3 separate regions of the Homo sapiens genome follow, and all the other regions are linked to region 3. The links are contacts of gene promoters, found by promoter capture Hi-C in blood cells and fetal thymus (Javierre and others, 2016). All regions are on one chromosome and are shown on one strand. Each heading gives the region's core, a stretch centred on a gene start or on the middle of the fragment in contact. The rest is flanking DNA. Distances are from core to core; before and after follow the strand shown. Region 1 holds the start of STT3B (STT3 oligosaccharyltransferase complex catalytic subunit B). Region 2 holds the start of GPD1L (glycerol-3-phosphate dehydrogenase 1 like). Region 3 holds the start of SLC4A7 (solute carrier family 4 member 7).

Region 1 (4,301 bases), core at 1,541-4,040, 4.0 Mb before region 3:
TTCGCTCTTTGTTGCCCAGGCTGGAGTGCAGTGGCGCGATCTCGGCTCACTGCAACCTTCGCCTCCCGGGTTCGAGAGATTCTCCTGCCTCAGCCTCCCAAGTAGCTGGATTACAGGCGCCCGACACCACTCCCGGCTAATTTTTGTATTTTTAGTAGAGAGGGGGTTTCACCATGTTGGCCAGGCTGGTCTCGAACTCCTGACCTCAGGTGATCCACCTGCCTCGGCTTTCCGAAGTGCTGGGATTACAGGCGTGAGCCACCGCGCCCGACCAAAACATATTTTCATGTGCATGAAAAAGAATTATGCCCTCCAACCACACTACTGAAGCTGGAAAAAGAAAACTTTTAATACTTAGCTACACTAAAAAAAAAAAAATAATAAAAATAAAAAATAAAAAATAAAAATATTAGCCACTTTACTTGTTGAGCCTTTTCATTATTGCATTACTCAATTTTAGTGGGGATCTTTGGCTGACTTGATGCAGATTTCTAATCTTAAGGAAAAATGACCAAAATCTCATCATTCAGTAGTGAATTTTTCTGCAATCTTTAATTTCAGCCCCAGAGTTACTATTAAACAGTCGTTAGCCTTCCATTTGTAAAAATGTTACTATGGAAATATTCACAATTTTGTTACCTGAAATGTTTGGTCAACCATGCATTTCTGCTATTTTAATCTGAAAAGAGAACTTTCTCTTTTCATATTGTCCAGTAAATACTAGTTTTCATTTTCTGGTTCCAATTTCATTTTTATCTAACTTGCTTAAGTATTTCAAAACAAGACCACCTAATAATATTGTGTCAATAAGCCTTCACAGGTATTCTTAGGCTCATAAATAGTCTACACTAACATATTTTCTTCTGTGATTGCACGTTAACAAAAAGGTTATTTTTTAAAAAAACTAGTGTTAGAAAACAAAATCAAAACTTCTAAAATGGAATGAAAACATTTCATGGAAGACTGTCACAGTAATTAACTGATCTAAATTGAATTGTCCATGAGTGGGCCCCTCTGGTGTTCAATAGATGTTGCAGTACCAATTTTTCTCTCCATAATGCAGAACTTAAATCTGGTATATTACTATACAGGTAAGTTACTGCCCCCCTCCACCCGAACACTTATTATCTATATAGTTAGTAACTCTCAAAAAAGACTCTCTCTCTTTGAATCTCAAATGATGAAACAAATATCCTGAAATTTAATTAGGTCTAACTGTGAGGAAGTAAGATTAACTCAAGGTTGACAGGTCAATAAGATAACACTAGTTTAAAAGGCATACTCTCAGAGGGGAAAATCCTAACTCAGGGGGAAAAATCCTAACTCGGGTTGGGCAAGTTGCGAAAAAAAAGTTAAAGCAATCTTTCCATCTAGATAATTCACAGACCAATGTAGTGTCTAAGTTAGCTAGTGTTGTTAAGAGTGGGGTAATTTCCTAAAACATTCAGGTCAGTCCCTTACACCATGTGCAACTTCGGTATTACAATCTAGGACTCCCATCACCGTGGTACTGTTTGCTCTTATCCACAAACCTTCCTGCAGACCAATAAAGGAACTAATGCAATGCTTTCAGATACTGTGCATAACACACTAAGGGTGACAGTGGCTAACAGGGTAAGGATCTTGTTCTAAAAAGCAACCCAAGACGATAGTGAAACAGTAAGGTGCTGAGTGCACTTAAGAGCTCTGAAAAAAAGCCACTCTTTAAAATACCTAATGATAAATAAATAAGAGTAGCTAGCTTTCAGATCACTTTCAGGGGTATTATTTCCTTCCCTCCAACACGCCATTCACTCTCCTTTTCCCTTCTCGTATCATGAGAGCATAAAAAGAAACAGTAAAAGCGTAAAACTGCAAGGGTGAGCAGCCGGGGTTCCGGCACATCTGGACCCACCTCCAGCGGCAACAGGGCAGCCCCCCTGGCCGATTCCGTCTGAACTAGCAAAAACGCGCCCGCAAATATGAAAGAACGCGAAAGCAGCGGGCGAGGAGGGCGGGGAATCGACCGACAGTCCGCGGAGGAGCTACCTGCCGCCTCCTGGCGTGGCGGGTCCGGACTCAGCGACCAAAGCGGGCTGCGAGGGACTGCACCCACACTCCCGGCGGCTGCACCCACACTCCCGGCGGCTGCATCCACACTCCTGGCAGTCTTCACACTAGCCCGGCCGAGAATCAAGGTTTCGCTCCTGGACCCCGACGCCCCGCCTCAGGCTGCACGGGGCAAACTTCGCCCACGGGCAGGGGGCGCGCCCGGAGCTCCGGGATCCGCGCCGGCCTCAGCCAGGACGCGAGCGGGGCTCCGCGGCGGCGCGGGGCCAAGTCGAGGAGAGCTGCGGCGGGCGGAGGAGCGGGTCCCGGTTCCCCGCGGGCCACGGGCGGGGGAGGGGCGGCGAGGCACTTACCACGGGTCGAACTCGTGGATGATGCTTTCGAAGCGGATGACGGCGAAGAGGCGCGAGCTGAAGCCGGCAAGCCAGGCCAGGAAGAGGATGGTGAAGGAGAGAAGCGACTGCCACCCAGCCGGCTGCGACAGCCCCCCGGACAGCCCCGCCGGGGCCGGCTTCGGCGGCGCCGCGCCGCCCGCCGCCTTGTGCGCGCACTGGGCCCCGGGCCCGTGGTGGCCGTGCCGGCTGTTTCCCAGGGCCATGAGGCCACTCCACGGGGACGAGTTGAGGGACGACTTGTGCTTGCTCTCCGGGGCCGAGGGCTCCGCCATGTTGTGCCCCGGCGGCGGGTCTAGCTCTCCTCCTCCGCCGCCGCCGCCTGGTGCGAGGGGTGCTGGGCGGGGACCCGGAGGAGGAGGAGGAGGAGGAAGAAAAAGGAGGAGGGAAGAGCTCTGCGCGCTCCCGCCCTCAGCGCCGCGAGGCCGGCGGACTGGGGGTGGAGGAAGCGGCGGCGGGGAGTCTCCGCCTCAGCAGCGGCCGCAATCGCCGCTCTCTCAACCCAGATGGCCCCGGCGCCCCACTAGCCATCCGTATCCCCAGTGCAGCTGCGGCGGCGGCGGCGAAAGCCGACGGGACGAGGGCGCCAGGAAAGAAGCAGCAGACGGAGGCGGCACCACGGCTCTGAGAAGCAATGACATTCCCTCTCTAGCCCGCCGCCCGCCCAGCCGAAAGGAGCAGGGGGAGGAGCCCCCTGGAGTCCGGGCGGAGCTCAAGCAACCTCTGACTCCGCCTCCGGCCCGACAGGAACTGGCCCCTCCGCCTGTCACAAAGCGACAGGTCCGTTAGGGGGCGGGCCCAGAACCGCTGCGCCCACCAATAGGGGCGCGAGCTGGGGCGGAGCTTGACCCAACCGTCTCCCCCTCCCCCCCACCATCCCGGCCTCGCGCCGATTCGCCCGGAGTGGCCGAGCTGCGCGGCTACGGCTTCATTGTCAGTTGAAAGACGCGGTTTCGCGCGCCTGTGCGGTCGGCGAGAAAGGGTACTAGGCGGCTCCGCTAGGTTCATGGAGCTGAGCTGGGCCGAGGGGCGGGAACTGCGGAGCGGCCTCGGTCAAACTCGTCTTAAAGGACGCGGAAAGCGCCGCACCGACCAGCAGGACGCTCGCGGGCTCTCCGCGGTCGTGACTTTTAACCCGCTTTGCGCGGAGCCCTCACCACGTGACGGCCGCGCAGGCGCATTATCCTAGCCCTCGGCGCGTGGGTCGGGCCGAGGGGTTCAGCAGCCCGTGGCGCTCCTCGGCTGGCGCTGCGAGTGAGCCCGCGGCGGCAGTGACACAGCCTACCTTGCTCATTGCCCTTCACGTCCCGCCTCCGGCTTCTGCGGCCGCGGGAATCCGAGAATGTGAGCAAAGACAAGTTTTCCGACACCGAAAACTCGTTGGAACCGGCAAGCGCGCCCCTAGCTCCGGCAGGCAAAATGCGACCTTCTCTCGCCCTTTTTCGTTTGTACTCCGAATTGCGAAAGTACTGTATGTTCACTGGAAATATGGGAAAATGCAGAAATACATTAACGGCTGCATACATTCCGTCGAGTGAGTGAAACTAACTTACCCTGGACGTTAAGCTGTTTCCAGTTCTCACTTTACTAAATAATAATAGAACGAAGGTTCTTGTGCACGTCTACCTTGTATTTTTATAATTCCTTTCCTTTCCCCACTTCCCTCCTTGTCCGCTAAAATAAAGTGCTACCAGATAAACTCAGGGCAAAATGAGCTTAAACTAAGTGAGGTAGTGGGGAGACTCGAATTGCTCTTATATAAACCCCATAGAAAGTACGGAGCTTTCGGCGTAATCGGTGCTCAGTAAATACTTGTTCATGTCAATTCACAGCTAATTGTACATTTTATTAGGTAAGTAA
Region 2 (4,198 bases), core at 1,013-3,512, 4.6 Mb before region 3:
GGAGACTCCGTCTAAAAAAATAGTAATAAAAAAAAACAACTGGCAAAGCCAAGCTGAAAGTCCAAATTAAGCTTTGCAGCAGCAAGCTACCAACTCTATTAAATATTGTGTAGAACATTCTGTTGTTGGTTGAAAAATGCAGCTCACAGAAAAGTATGCAATACCCTAGTATTTGCAGCGTGGAGGGCGAAAGGACTATATGTAAGCATTCACTTGCATGGAATTCCTCCAGAAAGGACAGAAGTAATTCATAACACTGGTTTTCCTCCAGGAGGTACTCAGGGGGGATAAATGTGGATGGGTGATGTTTCACTGTTTTTGGTACTCTTTGGTTTTTGTTTTTTATTTTTTGTTTTGTTTTGTTCTTTTGAGACAGGGTTTCACTCCCTTCACACAGACTAGAGTACGATGGTGCAATCTGATTTTGGCTCACTGCAACCTCTGCCTCCCAGGCTCAGGCGATTCTGCTGCCTTAGCATCCCAAGTAGCCGGGACTACAGGCGCCTGCCACCACACCTGGCTAATTTTTTGTATTTTCAGTAGAGACGGGGTTTCACCGTGGTCTCAATCTCCTGACCTCGTGATCCCCCTGCCTCAGCCTCCCAAAGTGCTGGGATTACAAGCGTGAGCCACCATGCCCGACTAATATTTTATTTTTTGTAGAGGCGGGGTTTTGCCGTGTTGCCCAGGCTAGTCTCAAACTCCTGGGCCCACCTCAGCCTCCCAAAGTGCTGGGATTACAGGCATAAGCTACTGCGCCCAGCCCTGGTTGTTAAACAATGTGAATGTATTATTCAATCAAATATCATTATGGTTTTAAAAATTAGTTTTTAGGCAGGGAGCGGTGGCTCACACCTGTAATCCCAGCTACTCAAGTGGATGAGGCACAAGAATCGCTTGAATCCAGGAGGTGGAGGTTGCAGTGAGCCAAGATCGCACCACTGCAACAGAGTCTTAGTATTGACTTAGCATATGCCAGGCACTAGGGTAGATGCCATTCTCAAAAGTTGGGAGACAGATAATCAAATAACTCCTTATAATGCAGTGATGCAGGCCAGCAATAGGGACACAGAGAGAGGCCACTGGCCTTGCTGGGATGGAAAAGTGAAGAACCAGGTAAGGTTTCCTTCAATAAGTACTTTCTGGGCCAAGTCTTGAAAGAGTAAAACTAAGACCAACTACCTAGGACCAGCTGCTGCAGCACTTCTGATGCCTGTCACGCCACAGAAAAACCGGTAAACAGAAGCACTGAAAGGACATCATCACTCTTAACTATTGTACACCAGTCCCTCCAATGTGGCAGAGTGTACAGCAATGAAAAAAGGCTTGGAAACACCAGATGCTACACTTTGCTTCCTTCCCCCTTCACACCCCCACCTCTACATTCACCCAAACACACCAGAGAATCCCACAGTGTACGTTTGATTAAGGGTACTAGAAGAACTGACATTTCTAATGTGCTCTATAAAATGTTAAAGTCAAATAAGGCCCCAAAGAGACGCAAAGCTTCGCAAACATCTCGGCAAGGGAGAATTCTCAACGCCTCAGGGAGAGCGGCCTGTTGAAACTTGGATTTTCTTCCTGATACGACGCGCCTAAGATAGTGGACCTATCAGAAGCGGGGGCGAGACGGGCACCTTGAAGGGCAGAGCATGCCCCGCCCGTGACCTGGGCAGCAAGAGCCCTTTAGCCCTCTCCGCCTCGGTTTCCTCAACACCGAAACTGCAGTAAGAATGCTCGAGCCTCCACCAAGTCCTTGACCCAGGAGATCCGCCGTGGAGAACGGAATACGCCCTTAGGATATTGTGCAAAACACCCAGGCGTGGCAAGCAGGTGGCTTCTGTGCGCTCAGTAACGGGGGCGCAGACAGGTGCCCGCGTGCTCGGGGTGCCCTCTCTCCGCGCTGTCCCCCGCACGCACGCGAGCCCAGCGCCTCCCGAGCGAGTGCCCCGGTGCGGCCTCCTCGGGCGCACGGTGCCCAGCCCAGCAACGAGGTCGCCCACCCCGCCTCCCTGCGCGCAGTGCCCGGTGCCCACGCCGCAGCATGGGGCGCGCAGCCCTCACCGCCCGGGAGAGGCGCTTCCTGGAAGCGGAGCCCCGGCCTCCAGCCCGCCGCCGCTCACCAGTTCCCCGAGCCCACGATGCACACTTTCAGGGGCGCCGCTGCCATGGCCGGGCCGAATGTAGCCGCCTGGACCGTGCTTCCCTGGCCGGCTGCCCACCTCCGCCTGTTCAGCCTTGCCCGCAGCGGCTGGCGGCGGCCCCGCCCCTTTCGCCTCTCCGCCAATGGTCGCGGCCACCCCCGCCCGGCGCCGGGGGCCGCAGCTGACAGCGGGGCAGGACCCGCTTCGCCACTCCCAAGAACCACTGCGCACGCCTGGCCCCGGCCGGCCTCCAGGCCCGGCTCCGGCACCGCCCCGCCCTGCCCGAGGCACGTCGGGACATGTAGTCCTCACCCCCCGTCGCTGCGCGGCCCTAGGCAGCAGCTCCCGCCGCGCCACATGCAGGCCCAGGCCACTGAGCAGCGACTCGCGCCCCTGGTTCCCGGTGGAGGCTGCACTCCATCCTCATGGGTGGAGCAGACCCAACCAGCTTGCCGTGGTGCCCCCTACACGCTCCTTTTTCCCTACTCGGGAAGGGCTGCCACATTGCCATTTGGAGCCGAGAGAGGCTCCTAGGTTGACTCTCAAGCCGACCAGACTTGGGGCAGAGCTCGAAATGCCCACCCGACCTTGTCATCCTCTGTTTCATTTGCACAAACAAGACACAGCCTGGCACCTCTGAACTTCTTAGAGAACTTGGATCTTCAGAGGACTTTGGAATTTGGCTGAACAGTACCTGCATTTCAAGGATGACACCTTTTCTAGTTAGAGTCAAGATAGAAACTTGACCTGGTGCAGTGGCTCACACCTGTAATCCCAGCACTTTTGGAGGCCGAGTCAGGAAGATCACTTGAGCCCAGGAGTTCGAGACCAGCCTGAGCAACATAATTAGGACCCCCCACCCCTCTGTACAAAAATTTAAAAAATTAGCCAAGCATGGTGGCACGCACCTATAGTCCTAGCTACTCAGGAGGCTGAGGCGGGAGAATTGCATGTGCCCAGGAGGTCGAGGCTTCAGTGAGCCAGGATAGGGCCACTGCACTCCAGACTGAAGGACAGTGAGACCCTGTCTCAACAAAAAATAAATACATAAAAATAAAGGGAAAAAGGTAACAACAGCTTGCATTCAGTGGGTGTCACCCTCACACGCTTACTTGGCAGGAATTGCTTTACCATTGTCTTTGCCCAGGGCCTGACTTATCCCTTGCTTGTGGTTTGTTTGCATTTGTGAGTAACACAATGCTCTCCTCCTTGACAAATAGAATCTTAGTTTGTTCATTCTGAGCATCAGTCTCTGCCAGGCACTGTGCTAGACGCTGTCAGAGTAGGACAAAGTCCTTTAAACCAGTGGTTCTCAAACTCTGCTGCATATTAGTCACTGGGGCTTTTAAAAATCCCCATGCCCAGACACCATTGCAGGCCAGTTACATCAGAATGTCCCATGGTGGGATCCAGGCATCAGGATATTTACTTATTGACATATATTTTTTGAGACAGTCTCCTTCTGTTGCCCAGGCTGGAGCAGAATTTTTTAAAGTTCAAGAGGTAGTTGCAAAAGCAAGCCAAGATTGAGAACCAGAAGACTAAAATATCAGTGGATTCTGGCTAAAGAAACAAATACTCTAGTACCTACAAAAAACTAAGCCTAGGCCGGGTGCCGTGGCTCACGCCTATAACCCCAGCACTTCAGGAGGTCGAGGCAGGCAGTTCACCTGAGGTCAGGAGATGGAGACTAGTCTGCCCAACTTGGCAAAACCCCGTCTCTACTGAAAATACAAAAAATTAGCCAGGCATGGTGGCAGATGCCTGTAATCCCAGCTACTCAGGAGGCTGAGACAGGAGAATCTCTTGAACCTGGGAGGCGGAGGTTGCAGTGAGCCGAGATCTTGCCTGGGCGACAAGAGCGACACTCCGTTTCAAAAAAATGATAGTAATACTAAGCCTATTAGTTTGATGCTCAGAGAACTGTTATTTTTGCTTTTTTCTCTACATTGTATGAAATATTTATTTGTGTTACTTATGATATTTACTTAAGGAAATACTTAAAGGGAGCTGGTGAGTCAGAGCAGTCTTTCCATCCCCTCACCAATGGTTTG
Region 3 (4,239 bases), core at 516-3,015:
TCACAGTCTCTAATTGTAGGCCTCTTTACATAGTAGCTATTAATAGAGGCACATCTGCTCTTGTACAAGTAAGTGAACAATGTGTGCTGGACTGGAAGTAACTCTCTGGGAAATTTAGGACAAAAGGGGACTAGGGCCCAAAGAAGGAATGAGTCATCCAGCATACCTAGCTACCTATTGCTGACAAAAAGCTTTACTAATACCCAGTTGGAGATGAATAGGATGTGAGCTCTGGATCCGCTGATGTATTTATATATCCTTCCATTGCATGGCTTCAGTTCTTCCCAACTAAACCTCTCCTTATCTTTTTTTATTTTATTTTTTATTTTTTTGAGACAGGGTCTAGCTCTGTCACCCAGGCTGGAGTGCAGTGGCGTGATCTCAGCTCACTGCAACCTCTGCCTCCTGGGTTCAAGCGATTCTCCTGCCTCAGCCTCCTGAGTAGCTGGGATTACAGGTGCCTGCCACCATGCCTGGCTAATTTTTGTATTTTTAGTAGACACGGGGTTTCGTCATGTTGGTCAGGCTGGTCTCGAACTCCTGATCTCAGGTGATCCGCCCGCCTCGGCCTCCCAAACTGCTGTAATTACAGGCGTAAGCCACCGCGCCCGGCCAAATTTCTCATCTTTATGAAACACTCAAGAGAAACCTGTTAACAATAATGAAAATTATCAGCATGCTATGTGCCAGGCACTTTTATGAATATAAATCCCCTTAATCCTTCAATGAGCCTGCATGGCAGGTATTACAATCATCCCGTTACAGAAGGGATATTTGAGAGACGGCCTACAGGGTGGACTCAATAATGTGGCAGCTGGCCGGGTGTGGTGGCTCATGCCTGTAATCCCAGCACTTTGGGAGGCTGAGGCTGGTGGATCACCTTAGCTCAGGAGTTCGAGACCAGCCTAACCAACATGGTGAAACCCCGTCTCTACTAAAAATACAAAAAGTTGCCGGGCGTGGTGGCGCGCGTCTGTAGTCCCAGCTACTCAGGAGGCTGAGGCAGGAGAATAGCTTGAACCCAGGCAGCGGAGGTTGCAGTGAGCCGAGATCATGCCATTGCACTCCAACCTGGGCTGGTGCAAGACTCTGTCTCAAAAAAAAAAAAAAAAAAAAAAAAAGTGGCAGCTGTCGTGGTGCTCAGTGGGCGAGCAAGCACAGGAGGACACCTGGTCAAGTGTACCCCATCTTTCACGGTCCCTGAGTTGGGGTTCGTGCCTACTGGATTGACAGAAAAGAAACTTCCAGGAGTCGTGAAGACTCGTTAGTTGCTTCGGAGGGTTATCCTGGGCGTCCTTGACAGAGGTGGCGTCCTCCTTCCCTGCAGCCTCTAAAGAATGTAGTTAGGAGCCAAGGGAGGTGGTGACCCCCCACCCCATTGAGAACGTCAGGGGAGCTTCCGACTTGAAAAACTAGTTAGACGCTCAGCTTCGGTCAATTAAGCTTATACAAAGAGGGGCGGTGCGTCCTGAGGAGGTGGCACGGGGGAGGCGAGCGGAAGTCCGCCAGCCGCCGATTGGCTGGGACAAATGTCCGTCCCGCCTCCCTCCCGCCCCATCTCCCGGTGGCCTAGCGGCGCGGCCCGCGGGCGCGCTGAGGAGGCTGGCGGTGCCAGACTGGCAGGGGGCGTGACCCGAGGAGGCGGGGCGGGGGGGCGTGTCTTGCCTGGCCCCGGCGCCGGGCTCGTCACGGTTTGCGGCTCCGCCCCCGAACCCCTCCTCCTACGCGGCTCTCCTCCTTCCCGCTCGGTCCGCCGGTTCGCTCAGTTCTAGCTTCAGGTTCCACGCCGCGGCCTCGCTCTCCTACTAAAGCCAGCCCAGCAGTCGCAGCGCGCACACGCACGCCCCGCGTCTCCCGCGCCCGGCGCCCGGCTCTCCCCACGCGCGCACACCTCGCGCACGGACGCACCCACGTTTGTCCTCGCGCGCCGGGGGCTCGGCGGCGGCGGCAGGGGCAGCGGCAGAAGCAGGCAGACCGCGCGGGGCAGTACCGTAGCGGCCGTCACGGGCTGGCCGGCCGGCCATGGAGGCTGATGGGGCCGGCGAGCAGATGAGACCGCTACTCACCCGGGTAACGAGCAGGGTGAGGGCGCCGCGGCGGTGGGGCTCCTCCGCAGGGGGAGGGCGCGGGGCGAGGCAGACAAAGGCGGGGGGCGCGGCGGGCGTCGCGGCTCGGCCACCTCGTCCCAGGCCCGTCGCCCCTCCACCTCCCGGCGGCCGGCGCGCCTCGCCATCCCCTTTGTGTGGCGGCCTGGGGCGCGGGTGGGAGGGGGCCAGCGGCTGCGCTCGGGAGGCCCGAGTCGGGGCGGCCGGCGGCGCGCCGCGGGCATCCTCTGCGCGGCTCAGGCGGGACCCCGACATCCCCGCAGAGGCCGCCTGTGACCCCGACCATCCATCCCTTCCCTCAGCGCTCGCCTCCCCTGTTTCTTAGCGCGCTCCCCAGGCGGGGTCCCGGTTCCGGTTGCCTTGGCGCAGGAGTTTCAGATTAGCCCTCGAAAACCTATCTTTCTTCTCCTTCTAAGGAGGACGGCGGCTCCACCTGTCTCTAGCCCCAGGCAGTGGTGAAGAGCTGGTTGAATCTTTCCCCCTCTTTCCGAGTGTCCCCTCCCGCTCCGCGGTGCGCTTTGTTCGGTGAGTTCTCCGGCCGCGTGGACTGGCCGCGCTCCTTCCCGGCCAAGGCTCTTTCGCTGTTGCCTGCCGGGTCCGCCTTCTCCACTGGCTGGGACCCGGGGAGTATCCTCCTGCCGCAGGCCAAGTAGAAGGAGGAGGGTGTCCTGAGCTGTCTGGTGCTCCTTCTCTAACTCAGCTAGCAAGATCGCGTTTCCTACTGAGACTGGCTTTGATTTCAGGGTTAGAAGAGAATGGGGATGGACTTAAGGCCGGTGTTCCCATTTGTGATGATGGGTGAACGGCCCATGCTCAAGAAGCGGACTTCCTGCTTTCTTTAGAGCACATGCGTCCCCGCAGTTGTCTCTTTCTCCTTTCCAAGTTCGTGACTCAAAGGAGATGGAAGTATTCTAAATTTTCCTACTTCTAATTTTTACTATGCAACCAGCAAAGGCGGGAAGGTTGCAGGGAAAATTGTCCGGTCTTTCACAACTAAGAGGAAAATTACTTCTCCTATGTTTTTATTCAAGAGTTGTCTTTAAAACTGCCTGCCGGCTTTCCCTTTTAACTTTTAGGATTATAGTTAAGGTTATGGAAAGTAGTCATTCATTAGTTCAGTACGTTCATATAAGTTCTCTAACATAGAAGAAAACTCAGTCACCAGACAGTGAAGTCATTTAGCAGTGGTTATTGGAAGATAATTCACAGTGATGGTAATGGAATACTGGAAACTCATCCTAAATAATCTGTAATTATTATTATTATTATTTTGAGACAGAGTCTCGCTCTGTCGCCCAGGCTGGAATGCAGTGGTGCGATCTCGGCTCACTGCAACCTCCTCCTCCCAGGTTCAACCGATTCTCCCGCCTCAGCCTCCGGAGTAGCAGGAATTACAGGCACGCACCACTATGCCCAGCTAATTTTTTGTATTTTTAGTAGAGACGGGGTTTTGCCATGTTGTCCAGGCTGGTCTGGAACTCCTGACCTCAGGCAATCCACCCGCCTCGGCCTCCCAAAGTGCTAGGATTACAGGCGTGAGCCACCGCGCCTGGCCTTCTGTAATTCTTTGTGTAGCCTTTGAATAAACTGTTTTATAGTACTTTCTCTGTGTATTTCAAGTATGATGTTGTCTGTTCTTAAATTTATTTGCAAATTTTCAATTGAGCAGTAAAGTGCATTCGAGTTTTCACGGAGCTGGATAGAAACTATGGTGTGTTCTCAAATATTGCCTGCCTAGCTAGTAGAGAAAGCATGTGATAAGGCCATTGCCCTCCAAGTTATTCATTCATTCATTGTAATAACACTTATTTAGACTAGTGTTTATGCTATTTAAACTATTATTTACACTATTTACTGTAGTGGCCAACAAGGCAGAACCAACTCCATCCTAATATTTATTTATTTATTTTTGAGACGGAGTTTCGCTCTGTCACCCAGGCTGGAGCGCAATGGCCTGATCTCGCCTCACTGCAACCTCTGCCTCCTGGGTTCAAGTGATTCTTCGGCCTCAGCCTCCCGAGTAGCTGGGATTACAGGCATGTGCCACCATACTCGGCTAATTTTGTATTTTTAGTAGAGATGGGATTTCACTGTTGGTTAGGCTGGTCTCGAACTCCTGACCTCAGGTGATCCA

What was found. Contacts are between HindIII fragments. The CHiCAGO score rates a contact against its expected background, and 5 or more counts as called.
Region 1: a contact is called between the fragment with the promoter of STT3B here and the fragment with the promoter of SLC4A7 in region 3, in 1 of 17 cell types (fetal thymus). The highest score is 9.1, in fetal thymus.
Region 2: a contact is called between the fragment with the promoter of GPD1L here and the fragment with the promoter of SLC4A7 in region 3, in 1 of 17 cell types (non-activated CD4 T cells). The highest score is 6.0, in non-activated CD4 T cells.

Annotation. Positions count from the first base shown.
Region 1 is chr3:31,531,414-31,535,714 of GRCh38, reverse strand. STT3B (STT3 oligosaccharyltransferase complex catalytic subunit B) reads right to left here and starts at 2,790. Exons shown (of 16, transcript NM_178862.3): 1 at 2,403-2,790. The coding sequence starts at 2,716. RefSeq lists enhancers at 1-116, 117-618, 2,058-2,117, 2,968-3,107 and silencers at 2,278-2,427, 2,508-2,637, 2,668-2,897, 3,208-3,467. The HindIII fragment of the contact is 5,534 bases long and covers 1-4,301 here.
Region 2 is chr3:32,104,684-32,108,881 of GRCh38, reverse strand. GPD1L (glycerol-3-phosphate dehydrogenase 1 like) reads right to left here and starts at 2,262. Exons shown (of 8, transcript NM_015141.4): 1 at 2,124-2,262. The coding sequence starts at 2,170. RefSeq lists silencers at 1,860-1,999, 2,120-2,529. The HindIII fragment of the contact is 2,757 bases long and covers 1,509-4,198 here.
Region 3 is chr3:27,481,910-27,486,148 of GRCh38, reverse strand. SLC4A7 (solute carrier family 4 member 7) reads left to right here and starts at 1,765. Exons shown (of 26, transcript NM_001321103.2): 1 at 1,765-2,082. The coding sequence starts at 2,023. RefSeq lists enhancers at 1,107-1,236, 1,715-2,491, 2,507-2,566, 2,597-2,806, 2,967-3,026 and silencers at 1,367-1,846, 1,877-2,236, 2,267-2,336. The HindIII fragment of the contact is 9,889 bases long and covers 1,446-4,239 here.